Regions from separate parts of the Homo sapiens genome. Here region 1 is linked to region 2. The links are contacts of gene promoters, found by promoter capture Hi-C in blood cells and fetal thymus (Javierre and others, 2016). All regions are on one chromosome and are shown on one strand. Each heading gives the region's core, a stretch centred on a gene start or on the middle of the fragment in contact. The rest is flanking DNA. Distances are from core to core; before and after follow the strand shown.

Region 1 (5,827 bases), core at 2,290-4,789, 240 kb before region 2:
CAGCAGAGTGAGGAGCAAAGCCATGGCACTTGGCTTTCTGGTGGTTACTCCTGGCAACCTTGTCGTGGCCTTGGACATGGACCCGGTCTGCCCCAGGGTTTCTGTTTCTCCATCTGTAGAACAAGGGTGAACTTCTGCCCTGGCTGGCCATAGAGCCGGCCGGACCAGGAAGCGTGCTGTCCTCCTTGAGAGGGCCAAGCAGTCACCAGAGTAAAGACAAGTGAGAATCAGGGCCTGCCGCCTCCCAGGAGAGGCCCAATTAGAGCAGCGAGTGGTTCCCACCAGAGGCTCTGGCCGGCCCTCAAAGCTAGCCGCGTGGGCAGGCAGCAGCAGGCTGTGTGATTAACGATGGCAGCTCGGGCCGCCCACTGGGCCTGGCCTCAGGAACTTCCAATGAGCACACATAGTGCCAAGGGGAAAGAGGGCCAGCTCCCTTTCTTCTGCAGCGAAGGGAGGAGGGAGCCGGCCGAGGGAGCACCCGGCAACCAGAGGGCAAACCCAAACAAAGGGCCACGCTTTTGAGGGCTCCTGAGACCTCGGCACAGGCCTCCCCGGGGGCCTCAGAGAGGGGTGGCATCAGGGATCCAGAGTTCAGCTCACTCCACAGGCCCCATCAATACATCCCAAGAAGGCTCAGCCCTCTTCCAAGCCCAGGGCCACGATGCAAACAAGAAACTGCTCCATCCTCAAGGAAACAGAGTCTACCATGCATTCATTCATCCATCCATCCATTCACTCAACAAAGACTACCACCTACTGAGTGCCCTGAGACCAGGTAGTGAACAAGACAATCAGGATCCCTGCTCTCAGAAATCTCTATTCTGACTCCTCAGGCAGAAAGCAAGTAAACCAATGCGGAAAAACTACACAGAGGCAAAGAATGGTTATGGGCACTGACTCCACAGGCTGAAGGCTCTGGGTTCAAAGCCCAGCCCTGGCTCCACCATCTGACCACCGGAAAGCTATTTAACCTCTGTGCCTGGGCCTCCTCCTCTGTAAGGTGGGATAATAAAAGTATCTATCACACAGGATAGCTCTAAGAATTAAAGGAGTTAATATATGTAAAGCACTTCAAACACTACCTGGCATATAGTAAACATCACAGAAATATTGTTTTTCATTTGTTTGTTTGTTTGTTTTGAGACGGAGTCTCGCTCTGTAACCCAGGCTGGAGTGCAGTGGCACGATCTCAGCTCACTGCAACCTCCACCTCCCAGGTTCAAGTGATTCTCCTGCCTCAGCCTCCCGAGTAGCTGGGATTACAGGTGCCTACCATCACACCCAGCTAATTTTTCATATTTTCAGTAGAGACAGGGTTTCATCATGTTGGCCAGGCTGGTCTCGAACTCCTGACCTCAGGTGATCTGCCAGCCTTGGCCTCCCAAAGTGCTAGGATTACAGGCGTGAGCCACCACGCCTGGCCAAGTGTTTGTTAAATGAAAAATAAAGTAGTTTCCAGTAGAGACATATACTCTGAAGAACCTGAGTGGGAGGGAGTGTCGGGGGAGGTGTGGGGTGAGGAGAGCCACATCAGGGAAGGTAAAAATTAGACTGCTTTTGGCTTCAAGTAATAAGAAACCTGGAAACTGGGCAGCTCCAGAACTGACCATTTCAGGGACTCACGGACATCTGTGAAGAACCAGGCACTTTGCTGCTCTCTGTTCTGTTACCTTCAGCCTTGGCCTCAGGCTGGTGCCCCTCGTAGCCACAAGATGGCTGCCACTGTGCCAAGGATTATATCTAAGGATGTAATGCATGTCAGAGGTCACTGGAGAAGAGATCGTCTATTCCTGGTGATAGAAAAACTTTCCTGGAATTCACCCCAGTAAGCTTCACTTCACAACTCATTTACCAGAGCAGCGTCACGTGTTCACGCTTAAAGCTGATCACCAAGGCTGGACGCAGTGGCTCACACCTGTAGTCCCAGCACTTTGGGAGGCTGAGGCGGGCGAATCACTCGAGCCCAGGGGTTTGAGACCAGCCTGGGCACCATGGCAAGACCCTGTGTCTACAAAATTTTAAAAAATTAAAAATTAAGGGCTGGGCACGGTGGCTCACACCTGTAATCCCAGCACTTTGGGAGGCCGAGGTTGGTGGATCACCTGAGGTCAGGAGTTCGAGACCACCCTGGCCAACATGGTGAAACCCTGTCTCTACTAAAAATCCAAAAAATTACTGTGGCGGTGGGCACCTGTAATCCCACCTACTCCGGAGGCTGAGGCAGGAGAACCGCAGGAACTCTGGAGGTGGAGGTTGCGGTGAGTCGAGATAGTGCCATTGCACTCCAGCCTGGGGAACAAGAGCAAAACTCCGTCTCAAAATAAATAAATAAATAAATAAAAATGTAAAAATAAAACCAATCACTGGCAAGGTGACAGAAATCACCTGGATTGGGTTACCAATTAGGACTCGCTCCTAAACACAGGGGCTCTCAGGGGAGGCATGGTAACGAAACAAAGACGAGGTCCTCAGGAAGGATCACCATATTGTTGTTGGGTAGGCAACCACCAAATTCTGCAACAAAGGGTCAGGGGAGGCCTCGTTGAGGACGTTGCTCTGAGCAGGGATCTGAATGATGGGAAGGAGCCATCCGTACAGCGATGTGAGGGAAAGACATTCTCAGCAGAGGGAGCAGCACGTGCAAAGACTCTGAAGTGAGTCTTGTTATTCAAGGAACATAAGGAAGACCACAGTGGCCATAGGATGGATTGAACAAAAGGGAAACAAGACGATAATAGCTTTTGGAATTTTAAATATATAGTGAGAATTTAAAAATATTAACTGTAGCATATATATGAGGAGAGAAACAAATGAGTTAGTGCTCTAAGGTTCTTTAATTGCCTGGGAAGAAGATAACAATAATGTGAAAACCATATATTGACAAGAAAGGGATGCAAGTTATAATTTCTACAACCATGCTATCTAATATAGTAGCCGCCAGCCACGTGACATTGAGGGGCCAGGAGAGCTGTCGCATGACGGTCAATTTACATTTAAATTAAGTAAAATTAAACAAAATTAAAAATTCAGTTTCTTAGTTGTATTAGCCACACTTCAAATGCTCAATAGCACATGTGGTTACCACACTGAACAGCAGCAACACCGAATATTTTCATTCAGTACAGAATGAAAAATGGGTCAAAACTCTTCTAGAGAAATTACTAAATGAATATAGAAAAAGCGAGTAACTTTCATTTCTTTTTTTTTTTTCTTTTTTTGAGACAGAGTTCTGCTCTATCACCCAGGCTGGAGGGCAGTGGCATGATCTCAGCTCACTGCAACTGCCACCTCCCAGGTTCAAGTGATTCTCCTGCCTCAGTCTCTCGAGTAGCTGGGATTACAGGTGTGCACCACCACGCCTGGAAAATTTTTGTGTTTTTAGTAGAGACAGAGTTTCGCCATGTTGGTAGGCTGGTCTCAAATTCTTGGCCTCAAGTGATCTGCCTGCCTCCGCCTCCCAAAGTGCCAGGACTACAGGCATGAGCCACCGCTACCAGCCTTGAAAAAAGCTAATAACTTTCAAACTGATAGTGGCAAAGCATAAAATGATAAAAATAATCATTTCTTATTTTGCAAACTGGGCAATGGTAATGAATAAAATTTGAAATTTTAATTTTACTCATGGATTTTCAAATGAGATTTTTTTTTTTGAGACTGAGTCTTGCTCTGTTGCCCAGGCTGGAGTGCAGTGGTGTGATTTCGGCTCACTGCAGCCTCCGCCTCCTGATCTCAAGTGATCCTCCCACCTCAGCGTCCCGAGTAGTTGAGACCACAGGTGCCCGCCCCACGCCCTGCTAATTTTTGTATTTGTATTTTTAGCAGAGACAGGCTTTCGCCATGTTGGCCAGGCTGACCTCGAACTCCTGATCTCAGGTGATCCGCCTACCTCAGCCTCCCAAAGTGTTGGGATTACAGGCGTGAGCCACTGCGCCCAGCCGAGATATTTTTTAAAAAATATTTTATTAGGTATTAGATAGTAGTGCAGGTCAGGCATGGTGGCTCACACCTGTAAAACCAGCACTGTGGGAGGGCGAGGCGGGCAGATCGTTTGAGGTCAGGAGTTGGAGACCAGCCTGAGCAACATGGCGAAACCCTGTCTCTACAAAAAAAAACTACAAAAACTAGCTGGGCATGGTGGCACGCATCTGTGGTCCTGGCTTTGCAGGAGGCTGAGGCGGGAGGATCGCTTGAGCCTGGGAGGTCAAGGCTCCAGTGAGCCAAGATCGTGCCACTGCACTCCAGCCCAGGAGGCAGAGCAAGACCTTGTCTAAAAAAAAGAAAGAAAAATAGAAAAAAAATTCCACAATGTTCTACTAAACATTAAAGGAAGATATGGTGCCAATATACACAAACCCCTCAGGAAAATATAAAAAGAGGTACATTGGCCGGGCGCGGTGACTCACACCTGTAATCCCAGCACTTTGGGAGGCCGAGGTGGGCGGATCACGAGGTCAGGAGATCGATTCCGTCCTGGCTAACATGGTGAAACCCCGTCTCTACTAAAAATACAAAAAAATTAGCCAGGCGTGGTGTCAGGCGCCTGTGGTCCCAGCTACTCGGGAGGCTGAGGCAGGAGAATGGCGTGAACCTGGGAGGCGGAGCTTGCAGTGAGCCGAGATCGCGCCACTGCACTCCAGCCTGGGCGACAGAGTGAGACTCTGTCTCAAAAAAAAAAAAAAAAAAAAAAAAAGAAGTACATTACCCAACACATCTTTTTTTTGAGATGGAGTCTTGCTCTGTCACCCAGGCTGGAGTGCAGTGGCGTGATCTTGGCTCACTGCAACCTCTGCCTCCTGGGTTCAAGCAATTCTCGTGCCTCACCCTCCCGACTACCTGGGATTACAGATACCCCCCACCATGCCCAGCTAATTTTTGTATTTTTAGTAGAGACTGGGTTTTGCCATGTTGGCTAGGCTGGCTTCGAACTCCTGACCTCAGGTGATCTGCCTGCCTCCGCCTCCACATCCAGCTACTCAATATATTTTAGAAGGCTGACATAACCTTGATACCAAACACCCAACAAAGATAGGCAGGTTATAGGCCAATCTAACTCATTAACATATATGCAAAGACTAAAAATACACTTTGGCAAATTTGATCTAATAATAATTTGAAAGGTTAATGCATCTGACCAAGTTAGGTTTATTCCAAAATTACAAGATTGGTTTAACATTTGAAAAATCAATGTAATTTTCTGTATTAAGCAAATAAGTTAGGAAAATTACATGATTAGCCTAATAGATGTGGAAAAGCTTTTGATATAATTTAACATCCATTAAAATTAAAACTCTTCAAAACTATGAATAGAAGAGAACTTTAATGTGATAAAGGGTAGCTGCAAAAAAAGCTTACAGCAGGCAGTCTTAATGATGAAATGTTGAAGGCATTTTTTCTCTTTGAGATTGGCAATGATATGAGGATGTCTGCTCTCACCATTATGTATTCTTAAGGTACTGAAAGGTCCTGGCTAGTGTGATATCCAAGAAAGAGAATTAAAACGTGTAAGGATTGTAAAGGAAGAAACAAAGCTATTATTATATGGAGATTACATGATTTTATACATAGAAAATCCCAGTGCACTGTGGGAAGCAGAGGAGGGAGGATTGCTTGAACTCAGCAGTTCGAGATCAGCCTGATAACATAGCAAGACCTTGTCTCTACTAAAAACCAAAAAATGTAGCTGGGCATGGTGGTGGGCATCTGTAGTTCCACCTACTCAGGAGGCTAGGGTGAGAGAATCGCTTGAGCCCAGGAGATCAAGGCTGCAGTGAGCTGTGATTGCACCACTGCACTCCAGCCTGAGCAAAAGAGCAAGACCCTGTCTCAA
Region 2 (5,588 bases), core at 2,741-5,240:
CCAAACATGAAAATGCATGTAGGCCAGGCACAGTGGCTCATGCCTGTAATCCCAGTACTTTGGGAGGCTGAGGCTGGCGGATCACCTGAGGTCAGGAGTTCAAGCCCAGCCTGGCCAACATGGTGAAACCCCAGCTCTACTAAAAATAACAAAAATTAGCAGAGCGTGGTGGCGGGTGCCTGTAATCCCAGCTACTCAAGAGGCTGGGGTAGAAGAATCACTTCAACTTGGGAGGCCGAGGTCACACCACTGCACTCCAGCTTGGGCAGAAGAGCGAGACTCCATCTCAAAAAAAAAAAACAAAAAACAAAAAACAAAAAAAACACTGACTCCTAATTAAGAAATTTTAATTTCTATGTCATAAACAATTAATCTGGTTTTTTTTTGTTTTTGTTTTTTGTTTTGTTTTGTTTCGTTTTGTTTTGAGACAAGGTCTCGCTCTGTTGCCCAGGCTGGAGTGCAATGGTGCCAACACAGTTCACCGCAGCCTCGACCTCCTAGGCTCAAGTGATCCTCCAAGGACCCTGCCTCAGCCAAGTAGCTGGGACTACACGTGCATGCCACCACAACTGATGTATTTTTTTGTTTTGTTTTGTTTTGAGACAGGGTCTCATCATGTTGCCCAAGCTGGTCTCCAAATCCTGGGCTCAAATGAACCTCCCACCTGGAATTCCCAAGTGCTGGGATTACGGACGCAAGCCACTGCACCTGGCCCAATTAATCTTTTGATCAAAAAAAGTCTATTATATTTTATTTAAGAAAACAAAAATTTATTAGTCTCAAAATATTTCAAGTAAGAGTCAGTGTGGGCCAAGTGTGGTGGCTCACACTTGTAAGCCCTGCACTTTGGGAGGCTGAGGCAGGCAGAGAGCCCAGGAGTTCGAGACCAGCCTGGGCAACACTGCAAAACCCTGCCTCTACTGATAATACAAAAAATTAACCAGGTGTGGTGGTTCGTGCCTGTAGTCCCAGGTACTCAGGAGGCTGAGGTGGGAGAATCACCTGAGCCCAGGAGGTTGAGGCTGCAGTGTGCTATGATCTCACCACTGCACTCCAGCCTGGGCAACACAGAAAGACCCTGTCTCAAAAAAAAAAGAAAATTCCTAAATGAAGTCTCAGGTATCTTCCATTTGAAAAAGAAGGTAAATAATATCTATCATTTAGGACTGCTATGAGGACTTTAAGTGAGTTATACTTTAAGTACCCGGCACATGGTAAATGCTCAGTTGTTCACTGAATGCATGAGCTGAATGCAAGAGTTTGAGGTTGCAGTGAGCTATGATCACGCCACTGTACTCCAGCCTGGGCAACACAGAAAGACCCTGTCTCAAAAAAATAAAGTAAAATAAAAATAAATAAAAAATGACACTAACAAAATCATGTTTACTGAGACTGAAACTGTTGTCTGCTCTGAAAATGCAGTATTAAATGCACTAGAAACGGTTAGTTAAAACCAATGCGTACACCAAATAGAAATGCACTGTGTAGAAAAGAAGCAAAGAACTTTGTGATAATATTTTCACCACTTCAACGCTAACACCCAGAGACTGAAAAGATTCTGGCTGTCAGGCCTAGGGTATATACGTTTCTCAATCTCAGTAGACCCTAGAAATACACTCTGGCTTTACAAAGTCCTGAGAAGTCAAAGGTAACTTTGTCTATAAAGTCTCAGGGATAGTGAATCAACATTAGCCTAGTGGTCTCAATACTGCTGGGCAATTCCTCAAACTGCTTTGTAGCCACTTCCCTACCCACCCAAACAAATATCGAAGGATTATCCATGTCTAAAGCTTCTTGTAGTTGATCCCAAACTGATGCACACTGAACAGTGCGGAGAGGTAGAAATTACTGAAATTTGCCTTTTTCTACTCTCTTCCTTGATATTATTCAAAGGAATATGCCTGTAGATTATTTTTCTTTGTTAAAGCTTCACTGAATTTAAGACCCAAAGCATTGGCTAAAAGGAATGTAATAAAGAAGAATTAACCAATATTTTCATAACATATTCAATTCCATTAGCCACTTCTGGAAGCTCTATTACTTACATTTAAAAAGTGACCAATTTATCACTGTGTAAGAAAGGGCAATATTACTAAAAATCTACAGTCTAAATGTAATTTCAGAGGAGGAAAAGTCCAGACACCTAAAAATATAATTACTGTCTCTCACTTCCTCAAACTTCAGATAAGAAATGTAATTTTTCTAGCTGACCTTCAAAAACAAGAAAGAAAGAAATGATCATTTCTGGGTCTTTGGTTTTTTTTTGTTTTTTTTTTTTTTTTTTTTTTGGAGACAGTCTTACTTTATTACCTAGGCTGGAGTGCAATGGTGCAATCTCGGCTCACTGCAGCTTCTGCCTCCTGGGTTCAAGAGATTCTCCTGCCTCAGCCTCCCGAGTAGCTGGGATTACAGGCATGTGCTGCCACACCCGACTAATTTTGTATTTTTTGGAAAGACGGGGTTTCACCATGTTGGTCAGGCTAGTCTCGAACTCCTGACCTCAGGTGATCCACCCGCCCGGCCTTCCAAGCCGCGCCCGGCCAGAAATGGTCATTTCTGAATGTACCACGTGTAATGCCAAAGGAACCCAAGATCCCTGCCCATGCCTAATAACTGCCAAACACTGACAGGCTTCACTGAGCTGCTGAGGCCAAAAAAATAGGTTCCTAAACTAGTTTATGTTTTCATTCATTCAACAAATATTTACTAAGCAGCCACTAAGGGTAAGGCAATAAGTATCAGCCACGTTCCCGGATACACTGCAGTGAACAAAGCCCTTGCTTCAGTGCTATGATTCTCAATAGGAGAAAGTACAGAACTAAAGAGGGTGATAGGAAAACTTCAGAGGCTGGGGAGCCTTTTCGGCTACCTGCTTCATTACACCCTTTAAGGGAGTCCTCCTGAATATTTACACAAAAGGGAAGTTGGAAAAAAAAAAAACATTTGTTATAAACAAAGGATTAAGTCAAAACTTTGAAAACTACTGACTCGGCGGAACTTCCGTTCCAAAGGTAGGAGAAATCAGTAAATGAATAATTTCAAAATGTGGTAAACACTACGAAGAAAATAAAGGTGACACAAGAAAAGTGCTCTAATAAAAACTGGGTTCTTGGGGAAGGCCTCCCTTTAGAACACTTTACGTACAAGCGACCATCAACTCTCACGCCACACAGAACCAGAAGCACGATGAGGTAGAACCGTCGTTAATAGTTCTCATCCATCCTAGAATTCATATTGCCTGTTATTAATTAACGAATACAATCATCCCAGTCGTTTAGCAATTCAACAACAGGTAGCAAACCCCCTCGAGACTTTGAATACGCTCTAAACAAAACTTGAAGCTGCTTTTACCACGCTTGCTCGGTCTTTAGGGATCATTGTTCACACACCTAAGGCAGCTGACAAAAGAGAGAGAGTCACACTCGCTTAGTGGCTGAGCTCGACCTGCTCTGGCACACGAGACTGAGCAGGGGCTTTCACCATGGGTGCGTAGGCTCAGAGGAGAGAGCCCCGAACCCCAGTCAGGCCCCGGGATCGCGGGCGCCCAGAGCGGGCGGCGGGGGCGTGGCGGGCCCGGCGCCTGCCTTTGTTGTCCCTCGTGGCGTGCGGGGGGGAGGGGCGGCCCGAGGCCCGCGAGGCCAGCTGCCGCCTCCGGCCCCGGTCGCGTGGTCTCCCGGCCCCCACGGGCGCGCGAACCCACCTTCTTGTAGTGCTTGCCCAGCCAGACCCGCACCGAATCCAGCTGGGACACCGTCTCCGGGCTCTCCCAAAACTTGGTGGCCGGGCCCCCATCCTTCCGTCGATAAACAGCTAGGCCTGCGGCTGCCGCCGCAATCCCCGAGCCCGTGGCGCCTACCGCTGTCCCCGGCCCGCCGCCGCCCGCCGCTGCGGCCATCGTCGCAGCCCGTCGTCCCCACAGCCTGGCCCACCCCGGCCCTCGCGGTGTTTCCCGGTCGTTCCCGCGCGCACCCCCGCGCGCGTAGCCGCCACTGCCGCTTCCCGGCCCCGCCCAGCCAACCCTCTTCCGGCGCGGACGCCCGGCCCCGCCCCATCTGGGAACTGGCACTGTATCTGACGCGAGCCAGCGCACGCGCATGCGTAGCACTCGTGCGGCCGTGCCTTGGAATAGCACGTCCTGCGGCCTCAGCCGCCTCTTCCGCCATCCTCCGTAGGCTGCATTCTGCCCTAGTGAGCGCCGGTTTTTGAGCCTTGCTCTTCCCTCGCTACCGACGTCGAATCATTATGCGGTCAACAACCGCAGGTGGGTTATGTGTCATAGCCCGCCTCCGCTGGAGGGAAAAGGCCTGGTGCGAGAAATGCCCAAGGGAAAGCCTGTCTAGGGTATCGAGTGCTGGCCGAGGGCCCTGCACCCGGACTGGGACTGCGCCGGGCCCCGCTTTCCCTCAGGCCCTCCACCCCCAGCGGCCCGGCGGCATTTGTGAACAGCCATCTGGGACTCCCACGCCTAGGCTTTTCGGCTTCACAGACCTTCCACTCCCTCAGGGGTCCAGCCACAGCGGCTCATTCCTGCCCCAGGGGCCCTTGCACTGGCTCTTTCGAGACCTCAGCAGGTCTTCCCTTCTGATTTGCACTTACGAGACGCGTTCAGATTCACTGCTTCAAAGGACTTCAGAAAGTAGTTGTCAGATCTTAACAATCTTGAACAACTGTTCACACCCATACACTTTCTGCATAGCGCTCACCACGACCCGGCGTTTCTAGTTTCTCATTTACCTTCCACATAAATTACATGAGAACCTAATCTTAACTTGTTCACAGGTGTATCCTGAACACCTGAGACAAGGAACAGATGTACAGTAAATACTTGATGAGTTAATGAATGGCCCACATAGAAGCCGAAAATTTTTAAATTATTAACAAGGTATATTGGCCGGGTGCGGAGCACTTTGGGAGGCTGAGGCGGGAGGATCAATTGAGCCCAGGAGCTCTAGACCACCACACCCATCCCCGTCTCTACAAAAAATACAAAAATCAGCCAGCGTTGTGTTGCAAGCCTGTGGTCCTAGCCTCTTGGAGGGCTGAGGTGGGAGGATCCCTTGAGCTGGGGAGATGGAGGCTGCAGTGAGCTATAATCGCGCCACTCACTACACTTCAGCTTGGGCGACAGAGCGAAACCCTGTTTCAGAAACATAAAAAGTATGACTGGCCATAATGGAGTTGTGAACATAATGCTATATGATCGCAGAGAAGCAAGTAACTAATTGCTTGTGAGAACGTGACTAACTGCTGGTAAGTTTCTGAGATCTTTTAAAAATGAGGGTGTGTACATGTTTTCAGGATCTCCTGAGGGCTGTGTCACGGACAGTAAAATATATTAAATAAAAAAGTTAATAGAATGTGATCAAGAGGGCCAGGCGAGATAGCTCACGCCTGTAATCCCAACACTTTGGGAGGCCAAGGCAGACTGATCACGAGGTCAGGAGTTCCAGACCACCCTGGCCAACATGGTGAAACCCCGTCTCTACTAAAACTACAAAAATTGGCCAGGTGTGGTGGTGCATGCCTGTAATCCCAGCTACTCGGGAGGCTGAGGCAGGAGAATTGCTTGAACCCAGGAGGAGGTGGAG

What was found. Contacts are between HindIII fragments. The CHiCAGO score rates a contact against its expected background, and 5 or more counts as called.
Region 1: a fragment that was not itself captured here is called in contact with the fragment with the promoter of SMARCC1 in region 2 in 1 of 17 cell types (endothelial precursors); the score reaches 7.4 in endothelial precursors.

The regions. Positions count from the first base shown.
Region 1 is chr3:47,542,563-47,548,389 of GRCh38, forward strand. No RefSeq gene overlaps it. Among named protein-coding and RNA genes, the nearest start is that of ELP6, 32 kb to the left of the region's middle. RefSeq lists an enhancer at 383-883. The HindIII fragment of the contact is 3,422 bases long and covers 1,829-5,250 here.
Region 2 is chr3:47,777,903-47,783,490 of GRCh38, forward strand. SMARCC1 (SWI/SNF related BAF chromatin remodeling complex subunit C1) reads right to left here and starts at 3,991. Exons shown (of 28, transcript NM_003074.4): 1 at 3,701-3,991. The coding sequence starts at 3,895. RefSeq lists silencers at 3,465-3,704, 3,885-4,104, 4,515-4,564, 4,675-4,734 and an enhancer at 3,937-4,231. The HindIII fragment of the contact is 14,461 bases long and covers 1,926-5,588 here.